4 separate regions of the Homo sapiens genome follow, and regions 2, 3 and 4 are each linked to region 1. The links are contacts of gene promoters, found by promoter capture Hi-C in human tissues and cell types (Jung and others, 2019). All regions are on one chromosome and are shown on one strand. The core of a region is centred on a gene start or on the middle of the fragment in contact, and the rest is flanking DNA. Distances in the headings are between cores, read along the strand shown.

Region 1 (2,552 bases), core at 31-2,530:
AGAGACAGGGTTTCACCATGTTGGCCAGGCTGGTCTCGAACTCCAGACCTTAAGTGATCCACCCGCCTCAGCCTCCCAAAGAAAGCCTCCCAAAGTTGGGACTACAGGCATGAGCCCCTGTGCTCACCCGAGGCAAGAAGATCTCTTAAGCCCAGGAGTTCCAGGCTGCAGTGAGCTATGATCACAGAGCTGCACTCCAGCCTGGGTGACGTAAGAGAGATCCCATCTAAAAAATAAATAAATAAAATAATAACACAAGCGATTGATTAGCTATACATTGTTCTTTGTATCACACATTCCAGGTACATTAAGATAATGGGAGAGGCAGCTAGTCAGGGACAAAATTCCTTTAAATAATTGTCCCGGGGCTGCATAGGGGAGTATGGTTGAAGTCTCTCTGGGCTCTGATAAATTTTGTATACATCACAGAGTTCTGGTTGTTCTATTTTCCTTTTCTCACCAGTAATTTCCCAGCTACTGAATTCTCTGCCTACCCACGTTTTCCCGGTCTATTTGTTTGTTTTTTGAGGGCAGGGTCTCACTTGTCGCCCAGGCTGGAGTGCAGTGGCGCAATGACAGCTCATTGCAGCCTTGACCTCCCAGGCTCAGGTGATCCTCCCACCTCAGCGTCCCAGGCGTGCGCCACCACACCCAGCTAATTTTTTGTAGAGACGGGGTCTCGTCATGTTGCCCAGGCTGGTCTCGAACTCCTGGGGCTCAGGTGATCTGCCCACTTAGGCATCCCAAAGTGCTGGTATTACTCTCATGAGGCACCACGCCCGGCCGCAAGTCTAATTTTCTTAAAGAGTTAAATATACAGAATTCATTCAAGTGTGCTTCAGTGCCAGAAAGCGTTCCAAACTGGGTTTCCCGACTTTTGCAAAACACGTGTCTAAGCGTGTGGGTGAAAGAACAGACGACTCTCGAGGAGCCCAACCCCTGGCCTCTGTGCTTCTCATGCTTACTCCCCAAACCAAGAGTAGGGTCGGTCTGCCTGCTTGGCTCTTTTGCTCTCACTCACGGCCCAACTCCTGTCACCCTCTTCCATTTCCTTGTCCTCCTTCCCGCCACCAAGCCCTGTCCTTTCCCTTCCTAGGCCAGCACCTGACTCAGAAGACGCGGTCGAGACACGATGCCCCGCAGATCGATGTAGATGGGGGAGGAAAGCCCGCTCTTCAGCACGAAGTCCCCAAACTTGAAAGCCTGCACGTCGTACAGACCCGTCACCAATGGCCCCAAAGCTGCACGAGCGACCGCCATTGTCGCGCGCTGCCTGTTTGCTTCAAATTCCCAGGCGCCCCGGGCCTCCGGCGCCCCGATGACGTCACCCGCGAAGTCCCGCCTCTTCCGCCTGCCTCGTCTGCAGCTTTCCCGGCTTGCTGCACCCGTGGGTTTCCCCGGGCTCAAGGGTCAGGTGGATGGTAGCGAACCTAGCGCCAGTTTGTGCTTCTCCTGGTTTCTTCTGGATGGGGTCGCTGGGGTTCAAAGCCCAGAACAGCTAGATTGACTGTAGGATCATGAAGTCCCACCTTTCATGAGAGTTTGCATAAATCCTGTCCATTTTTTAATAGCCAATGCCTTCTCGACTAGTTCTCTTAATTATCTCTACTCCTTGGCCTAACATGTTATATTTGCTAGTTATTAGCCAAGATTTACCCCCCATGTTTCTCCAAATAGAATATAAGTTATCAAAGACAGGGACCTTTACTCAATTCTTTTATTAACTTCATAGCATCTAGTACGTGACAGTTCCATAGCAGTTTGCACATAGGAATATATAGCACTTAGATCATTACAGTATTCATTACCTCTTTTGTCTGTACTCTGCTTCCTGGAGGAGTACTTTTTTATTTCCTTTGGCGTACCTCAAATGCTTAGGTAATAGGTGTAGAAAAGGTAAGGGAGGGAAGGAGGAGAGTTAGAAGACGGTTAATTGATTGGTATCAGGGTTATCCAGGAGGATAATATTGCTAGACAATCTGAAAATCCAAACATATTTGGTCTTTACAAATAAATCCCTTAAAGAAATAATCAATAAATAATCTGTACAAATAAATCCCTTCTCCATTGTGTATATAAGGCAATACTTTATTCTAGCTTAAGGAAAATAACCCTTAAATTCACATAAAGAATGAAACCTTGTCATTTGCAGCAAGGTGGATGAACCTGAAGGACATTATGTTAGTGAAACAAGCCAGGAACAGGAAGATAAATACCAAATGTTCTCGCTCATATGCAGAAGCTAAAAAAGTTGATCTCATGGAGCTAGAGAATAAAATAGTAATCACTAGAGGCTGGGAAGGGTAGGGGGTGGTTAAAGGACACAAATTACAGCTAGATAGGAGGAATAAGTCCTAGTGTTCCATTGCACTGTAGGGTGACTGTAGTCAATAATAATTTACTATATATTTTAAAATAGCTAGAAGAGGGGCGTTTGAATGTTCCCAACACAAAGAAAGGATAAATATTTAAGGTGAGGAATATATGAATTACTCTGATTTGATCACTGTACATTGTGTGTATTGAAATAGCACTATGTACCCAATAAATGT
Region 2 (2,552 bases), core at 31-2,530, 210 kb before region 1:
AGGCCGGGCACAGTGGCTCACACCTATGATCCCAGCGCTTTGGGAGGCCGAGGCGGGTGGATCACGAGGTCAGGACATTGAGACCATCCTGGCTAACACGGTGAAACCCCATCTCTACTAAAAAATAAAAATAAAAAAATTAGCCAGGTGTGGTGGCGGGCGCCTGTAATCCCAGCTACTCGAGAGGCTGAGGCAGGAGAATGGCATGAACCCAGGAGGCGGAGCTTGCAGTGAGCCGAGATTGCGCCACTGCACTCCAGCCTGGGTGACAAAGCGAGACTCCCTCTCAAAACAAACAAACAAACAAAAAAAGATGAGTAAAAAGCTAAATATTCTTCCCCCACATATTTACTTACTAATAATATTTTCTCTTTTGAATAATTTGATCATGACAACCAACTTTTGGAAGATAAATTGTCTGAATGCACTGTGGGTCTGAAGACCCCAAACTGTGTCTTATTTCTTTGCATTCCCTGTTCCCTGCACCTAGAACAAATCGGACGGCCTTCATTCATTCCTTCCTTTCTTCCATAAATCTTTACTGAGCACCTGCCATGTGCCAGCTGTTCTGGATGCTGGAGACAGAGGAGTGGACAGGGAAGAGAAACTCTCATGGAAGTTAGGCAACAGGTAGCTAAACCAGCAAAGAGACAAAGTAATTACATATTGTGATGAGGGCTATGGAGGAAACGAACTGAGGTGGGATGGTCAGGCGAGTAGACCAGCTCCTTTAGATAAGGCCCCCAAGGAAGATCTGGCCTGTCGTTCTCCTGCTTAAATGTTCCCATGGCTTCTGCCATTGTGCTTAGAATAAAATCCACATTCCTTTCCACAGCCTCTAAGATCCTGTAGGATCAGGCCCCAGCCTGCCTCTCTGACAACATCTCCCCCCAGTCTCCTCCTAAATCATGGTGCTCTTCAAACACACCAGACTTGTTCTGGCCTCAGGCCTTTGCACTTACTACTTTTCTAGCTGGAATGCCCTTTTTCTGATGTTTATATGGCAGGCTTCCCTTCAATAGCAGCTCTCAGTTCCGATATCAGCTCCTGCAAGAAGGTTTTGCTGACCATCCTATTTAAAGTAGCACCTCATACCCCACAAGTCACTATCCCATTGTTGTGTTTTATTTTCTTCAGAGCATTGACCACTCTCTAAAATCATTGTATTTAATTACTTTTTTTGCCGACCTCCACTACCCATGATCTCACAGAAGCTTCAGGAGAGCAGAGACCTTCATCATCTTGTTCACTGCTTCATCTTCGATACCTGATGGATGTGCAGAGATGCCTCGAGTACCTGGGAGTGACTGAACAGCCCCCTCCTGAACATTACTCATGTAAAGCAACCATTCACTGAAAAGTTAATTTCAGAGGGTATAAAAAGCAAGAGTGGAAATGGTTCTGTCAATGTGTCATCAATTAGACATTTGAGTTGGGAATATTGCATTCCACAAGTCATTTCTCTGGGAATGGTCTTCTGAATTAGAGAGGAAAATGCTGATCAGCTTCATGTAGTATCTAAATGTGATATCCGTAAATGGTAGTAGTGACTCTGGGAAGGCTATACTCACACCTCTATTGAGGGGCTGGAATTAGTGAGAAGGAGATAGGAGCTTAACATGTATTTACATTTGGTTCTATAGACAGAAAATAATCTTTGGGTCTAACTATTTAATCTTGATAGAATTTTATGTTTTAATGATCCTCTAGAGCCTTATCATGGTACTGCAGTGTTGCAGAATCAAAGTAGCCAAAGAGGAGCTCTTTTGTTTGAGACAGGGTCTCGCTCTCTCGCCCATGCCGTGGTGCAGCAGTGCAATCTCGGATCACTGCAACCTCCGCCTCCAGGGTTCAAGGGATCCTCCTGCCTCAGCCTCCCAAGTATCTGGTACTACAGGCATGCATTACCATGTTAAGATAATTATTTTAAAATTGTTTTGTAGAGACAAGGTCTCACTATATTGCTTAGGCTGGTCTCAAACTCCTGGGCTCAAGCAACCCTCCCACTTTGGCCTCCCAAAGTGCTGGGATTACAGATGTGAGCCACCTCACCTGGCTAGAGAGGCTCTTGATGGATCAAATTCTAATTCTAAATGGCTCTGATATAGCTCTCTTGAGTTTATGCCTAAATAACTGGATATTGCTTTAGATTAATGGGCATGTCCCATTCCTCTGCATAGTCAATAGAATTATTGAAAAGCTCACCCTGAACAATAGTTCTTTTGCAACCAGGTAATTATGGGTAAACAGCTTTTTTTTTTTAGCTGACTTGGTGACAACGTTACCAACATATAACATTGTTTCTGTGGGAAAATGGAGTCTGTGTTCTTGACTTATAGATAAATACTTAGAATTTAGCCATTTCATACTAATAAATATCAACCCTTTTTCCTATCCAGGTTTTGAGTTCTGTGAGAAGTAAAACACAGAGTACAACAGATGGAGACAAAATATTACTTTTATAGAAGCTTATTTTTGAGAATGTGGCTTAGGGCTCCCTCCTTCTGGATCCTTACCTTCTTGGGCACAACAATCCTGAATCCAGGTTATCT
Region 3 (2,552 bases), core at 26-2,525, 170 kb after region 1:
GTTCACTTCACCTCAATGGCTTGATCAAAAAGATATACTACACCAGGTCCCTACCCTGGCAAGAAGCGAATTCCAAAGAATGGCCAACAAGGGAGGGTGCTGGGGAAATGGTTTGAGGGGTCAGGCAGAGCTGCTCCTGCAACAGTCCCTCCCATCCTCTCCTCCAGGGATGCTGTAGGGTAAGATTCTAAGACCAAAGTTATTCCTACTCAGGGAGATGCTGGGAGCTGAGTAGGCAGCACAGAATCTCGGCATGCATTCAGGTTATGTTTTTGATTCTTCTCTGATCTTGTACCCCTGCTTCTGGAATCTTCTCTCATCTTACTCCCCTCACTGTATGCTCCCACTCCAGCAGCGAGTCCCTGTCTGGCCTTTCATGCCTAAGTCTTGGCCCCCTTCCCAGGAGCTCTCAGATATTTTCTCTGCCTAATTCCCTAGAACCCTGCCTAAGGCCTGCTAAGCCTTCTTGATGCTAATTGTCTGCCTGGCTTCCCTCCAAGTGCCTGCTGCTGAGTCACCATCCAACTCCTTGTCCTTACTTTCCCAGTCTCTCTCCTTTCTGGGTCCTGGCCATTCCCAGTGGGGCCTGTTCCCCTGCTGACCAATCCCTGGGTGGACACGGCCTCCTTCACCCTCCGCAATGCTTCCCAGAGGGGCAGAAGGAGCTCCTCCTGTCCTCACTTTCCTCCAGCTCCACAGTGATAGCTGTGCTGGCTTCTTTCCAGCATGGACCGCTACATACATAAGGGACATTTCGTAACCACTCTTTGTAACTCCATCTGCATTTTCAAAGTTCTCACGTTCACCAGAAATGATCATTTTCATTTAGGTCTATTTTTACATGATTAATATTTGGGGATTAACTGAACCTCCTTCTTGTATAAACTGTGTGAGCTAGATTGTCCCTTTGAGCTTCCTCATGTTATGGAAAAGACACAGTTATTCTGTGATGGTTTCCCAATGGCATCCAGAGAGTGAGGACAGGACCCCTGAAGAATTCTCCTGTTGTCATTTCAGAGCTTCCATTTGTGCACCTCTGTGTCTCTGCTCCATTCTCCAAGGCAGCATAGCCTCGTTTAGGGCATGGGCTCTGCAGCTCCTCACCAACTGTGTGACCAGGAGCAAGTTACTTCACCTCTTTGTCTCAATTTCTTCATCTGTCAAATGGGGATAATGACAGTATCTACTTCACAGCTTGTTGTGAAGATTAAATGAGATAGTATTAAAGCACCTAGGATAGTGCCTTAAGCAGAGAGAGCTAAATGATTGTCTAAAAAATAAGTTCTGGGCTGGGCGCAGTGGCTCGTGACTGTAATCCCAGCATTTCGGGAGGCCGAGGGCGGTGGATCACTTGAGGTCAGGAGTTCCAGACCAGCCTGGCCAACATGTTGAAACCCTGTTTCTAATAAAAATACAAAAAATTAGCCAGGTGTGGTGGTGCACACCTGTATTCCCAGCTACTCAGGAGGCTGAGGCAGGAGAATTGCACAAACCTGGGAAGCAGAGGTTGCAGTGAGCCGAGATCATGCCATTGCACTCCAGCCTGGGAGTCACAGTGAGACTCCCTCTCAAAGAAAAAAAAAAATTCTGGCGGTATTAGTGAATTATTATTTAAATTTGGGAGGAAAGGAGTACAGAAGAAATTTTAAACATCAATTTTGATGGCATGTTGTTTGGTAACAGACTGTATCAACTGTATATATGCATATACATTATTATGTAAGTGAATCCTTTTTTTTAAAGTAATCTTCATGGAGTTTTGCCCTAACTAGAAGAACTGACCCTGAGGCTCACTAGGGAAGGTGACTCAGACCTCCCTCAAATCAGCACATACTTTTCCTGTTATGATAAAAACAAAGACATGGTGGGACCGAGGAATCCCTTATGCAAAATGAGGATTCACTCTTGCCTCTTCATTCCGCATTGCTTTCCAGGAAGCTTCCATGTGAAGAAGCCCCCTTACCCCAGAATCTGATACCTGCCCTCAATACTTGCCAACTGAGCCTTCTAACTGTGAATACTGACTTCTGACACTGCCTTGCAGAGCACTTGGATCTGATACTCTTGACAGAGGGGGAGCTGTGCCCAAGAGCGCCCATCAGATAAGTCCGACCTCCTCTTCCTCCCCTGGCTGCCTGCCCTGCAACTTCTTCCATCTGATCATCTGATTCCTCCACAACTCTTAGCCAGCCTTAGGCACCAAGTTCACATGAATTAACATCTACATATGAACAGCCTCACAGGAGGCCAGAGCTGGCTGGCAAAAAATGTAAAGCTGGAGCATATCTACTTGGCACAGTTTCAAGGGCACCGTGAAGTCCTGCCAACTCCTGTGCAAAAACTGTCTTTCTCTCCTCCCCTCAACACTCCCTGCACCTGCTGCTAATGCCTGGAATTCCTCCATCAGAAAGTGATTTCATTTAATTAGGTAATGTCCCTTAACATGAAACACCTCAAACCAGACTATGATTCCCTTCCAAATGCAAAAAGATGAGATGCACCACACAAGTGACATGCAGCTGTACTTTAAGCATGAAAATGCTCATAATAGC
Region 4 (2,552 bases), core at 27-2,526, 160 kb after region 1:
GCCTGGTCCTTCACATAAGAACTCTGCAGAGGTCCCTGATGCATGATCCGTCCCTCCTTTCTATAAATATTTACTGAGAACTTCTTACATGGCAGCTACTGTTTTAGATGCTGGGGATAGGGCAATGAACACAGTAGACAAAATCCCTGTATTGGTAGGGGGGATTTGCAGAGGAATATTAACAAATATGTCAGGTAGTGATAAATGCAATGAAGAAAAGTAAAACAGAGAAGGGAGTATACACTGTGATGGGAGAGGGTGGGAGTTAGGGAAGACCTCTCTAATCAGGTGACATTCAAGCAGAAGGAAGTGTGACAGCAAGACATCCAAGTCTCTGAGGATCTGGGGTATCTGGTGTGTTCCAAGCAGAGGGAACAAAAGATCAGGCCCTGAGGTGAGCGTATGCATGGCTTGATTGGTAATGGCTCAGTGAGGCAGGCTGGTCAGGTGAATGGTAGACAGAATAACGTCCGCCAAAGATGTCCACATCCTCCTCTCCAGAACCTATAAATATGTTACCTTATATGGCAAAAGAGACTGTGCAAATGTGATTCTGTTAGGGACCTCGAGGCAAGGGGATTATGCTGGATCATTCTGGTGAGGACAGTGTAATGGTGGGTGTTCTTAAAAGCAGAGAACCTTTCCCACTGTGGCCCAGGGGAAACATTACCATGGAAGGAGGATCAGAAAGATGCAACATTGCTGGCTTTGAAGATGGAGAAAGTGTGGTGGTCTCTGGAAGCTGGAAGAGGCAAGAAATAGCTTTTCCCTAACAGCCTACAAAAAGGAATGTGGCCCTGATTGCTGAAACTGTGATTTTAGCCCATGGGGACTCATGTTGCATTTCCAACCCACAGAACTGTACGATAATGAGTTTGTGTTGTTGTTTGAAGCCACCATGTTCATGGTAATTTGTTACAGCAGCAACAGGAAATGAATACATAGGAGATGAAGTCAGAGAATAGGCTCCAGAACAGGTTTTGTGGAGCCTCTTTGCAGTCACAGAAAGGACTTCGTTTTACTGGAAATGAGACAGGAGACACTGGAACATTCTGAACTGAGATGGGTCTTCAGCCTGGGCCACCTCCCTGCAGCTGGGGGCAAGCAACGGGGCAATTATCTGTTCGCCCTCCTGTGTACAAAGGTGAGGAGCCAGACTTCCTGTGGCCTAGAGGCCCATGTGGAAAGTAAGGCAAGTGGGCACAATCTGAGAATCAAGATTCTGGCTGGGGTTAGTGGATACGGGGAGAAAACAAGACAACCCAGTCCTACCACAAGGGCAAAGAAAGGGGCAGGCTGTTCAGTAACTGCCCATAGGGCAGAGGGCTGGTATTCAGAATGGCAATTAGTAGTAAATGGAAAGACTTCTCATGCTTGTTTGCAGGGTTTGGGTTAAGGCTGCAGTTTCACCCCCACATAGATCCTCGGTGAGGAGTTGTTCTCAAGGAGCAAGTGAGACAGGGAAGGCAGTGTGGCGGTGAGAGGAGGGTGCTGACTGCTCTGTCCTGCAGAATCCTGTTGCTGAGAGCTCCTAGAGCTGTGGCCTGCAAGGGCTGCTCCTCAAGGCCTTTGAGGTCCTCCCATCTCTGCCCTTCCCTGAGCAGACAGGATGGGCACATCCCAAGATTGTCCAGACCATTGCCTTGCCTTCTCTTTTCCTCAAGTCACATTCAGTGCATGTCATTCCTGGGTCCCCGTGTTCTTCTAGGGGGAAAGTGTTCAGCTTAGCTAGCTGTAAGCAAGAAAACTGCACCATCTTTCCTCTGGGGGAACATTCTGTTTGCTGGGGTAACCTCCTCTCTATCATCTCCAGCTTCTTCTCAGAAAGCAGTCAGTGGCAGCCTTTCTTCTCTGGGATCAAATCCTGAGGCTCTCATTTTAGCTCTGAGCTCCATCAGCTGGTTCATTGGCTCCAAAGAGCATATTCAAGTTTGCCCCTGACTTCCCCTCTGGATGATAAGGGGCATCATCATCATGTAGATGTCACAGATTTACAGTGGGCACCAGCAGGCATGAAAACATGCTGTTGAAATTGGCATTTAACATAAGCAAAGTCACAGCAGGCTGGCTACAAAAGGGAAAAATGCAGGATCTCTGCAGAGGGACCCAGAGAGACCAGCTCTTTCCATGGACACCTGGGTCTTCCTGCTTCAGTTCTACTTGGAGACAGCACGACACTGAGTTGTATTTAGAGAAGGATGTGGCTTGCCCTGACATGTTCCTATTTGAGGCTTTGATTCTAAGCCCTTTCATGTCCTAAATAGTATTAGATGGATGTAGCCACAGGCAGGACATCTCAACCAGAACAAAGCAGGCCTGAGGCAGTTTCCACGAAACTCCTCTCTGTCCTGCTCTTCTTTGAATTAAAGAGTGGTCCCCTCATATACACCCAACACTCACAGTGTCAGCACAACCCCCATCACACAGGTCAGCCCATCTCCATAATGTGGTCCAAATGTTACCTTCAAGTACCACAGAATTAATGACAGAGAATAGGTCATGGAGAGGTGCCAGAGGTACAAGCCAAGGAAAAACTTGAATTTTTAGCTCAA

What was found. Contacts are between HindIII fragments. The study calls those that stand out against the background at their distance.
Region 2: a contact is called between a fragment that was not itself captured here and the fragment with the promoter of UMPS in region 1, in 1 of the 25 tissues and cell types used here (IMR-90 fibroblasts).
Region 3: a fragment that was not itself captured here is called in contact with the fragment with the promoter of UMPS in region 1 in 3 of the 25 tissues and cell types used here (dorsolateral prefrontal cortex, lymphoblastoid cells and mesenchymal stem cells).
Region 4: a fragment that was not itself captured here is called in contact with the fragment with the promoter of UMPS in region 1 in 1 of the 25 tissues and cell types used here (liver).

What each region holds. Positions count from the first base shown.
Region 1 is chr3:124,729,180-124,731,731 of GRCh38, reverse strand. UMPS (uridine monophosphate synthetase) reads right to left here and starts at 1,280. Exons shown (of 6, transcript NM_000373.4): 1 at 1,105-1,280. The coding sequence starts at 1,260. RefSeq lists enhancers at 1,201-1,610, 1,023-1,622. The HindIII fragment of the contact is 9,650 bases long and covers 1-2,552 here.
Region 2 is chr3:124,938,180-124,940,731 of GRCh38, reverse strand. No RefSeq gene overlaps it. Among named protein-coding and RNA genes, the nearest start is that of MUC13, 4.7 kb to the right of the region's middle. The HindIII fragment of the contact is 5,379 bases long and covers 1-2,552 here.
Region 3 is chr3:124,557,314-124,559,865 of GRCh38, reverse strand. The region is part of intron 33 of KALRN (kalirin RhoGEF kinase); the gene reads right to left. All of the region lies in intron 2 of LOC105374076 (a long non-coding RNA gene), which reads left to right. Among named protein-coding and RNA genes, the nearest start is that of UMPS, 170 kb to the left of the region's middle. The HindIII fragment of the contact is 4,316 bases long and covers 1-2,552 here.
Region 4 is chr3:124,573,873-124,576,424 of GRCh38, reverse strand. All of the region lies in intron 34 of KALRN (kalirin RhoGEF kinase), which reads right to left. The region is part of intron 2 of LOC105374076 (a long non-coding RNA gene); the gene reads left to right. Among named protein-coding and RNA genes, the nearest start is that of UMPS, 160 kb to the left of the region's middle. The HindIII fragment of the contact is 5,764 bases long and covers 1-2,552 here.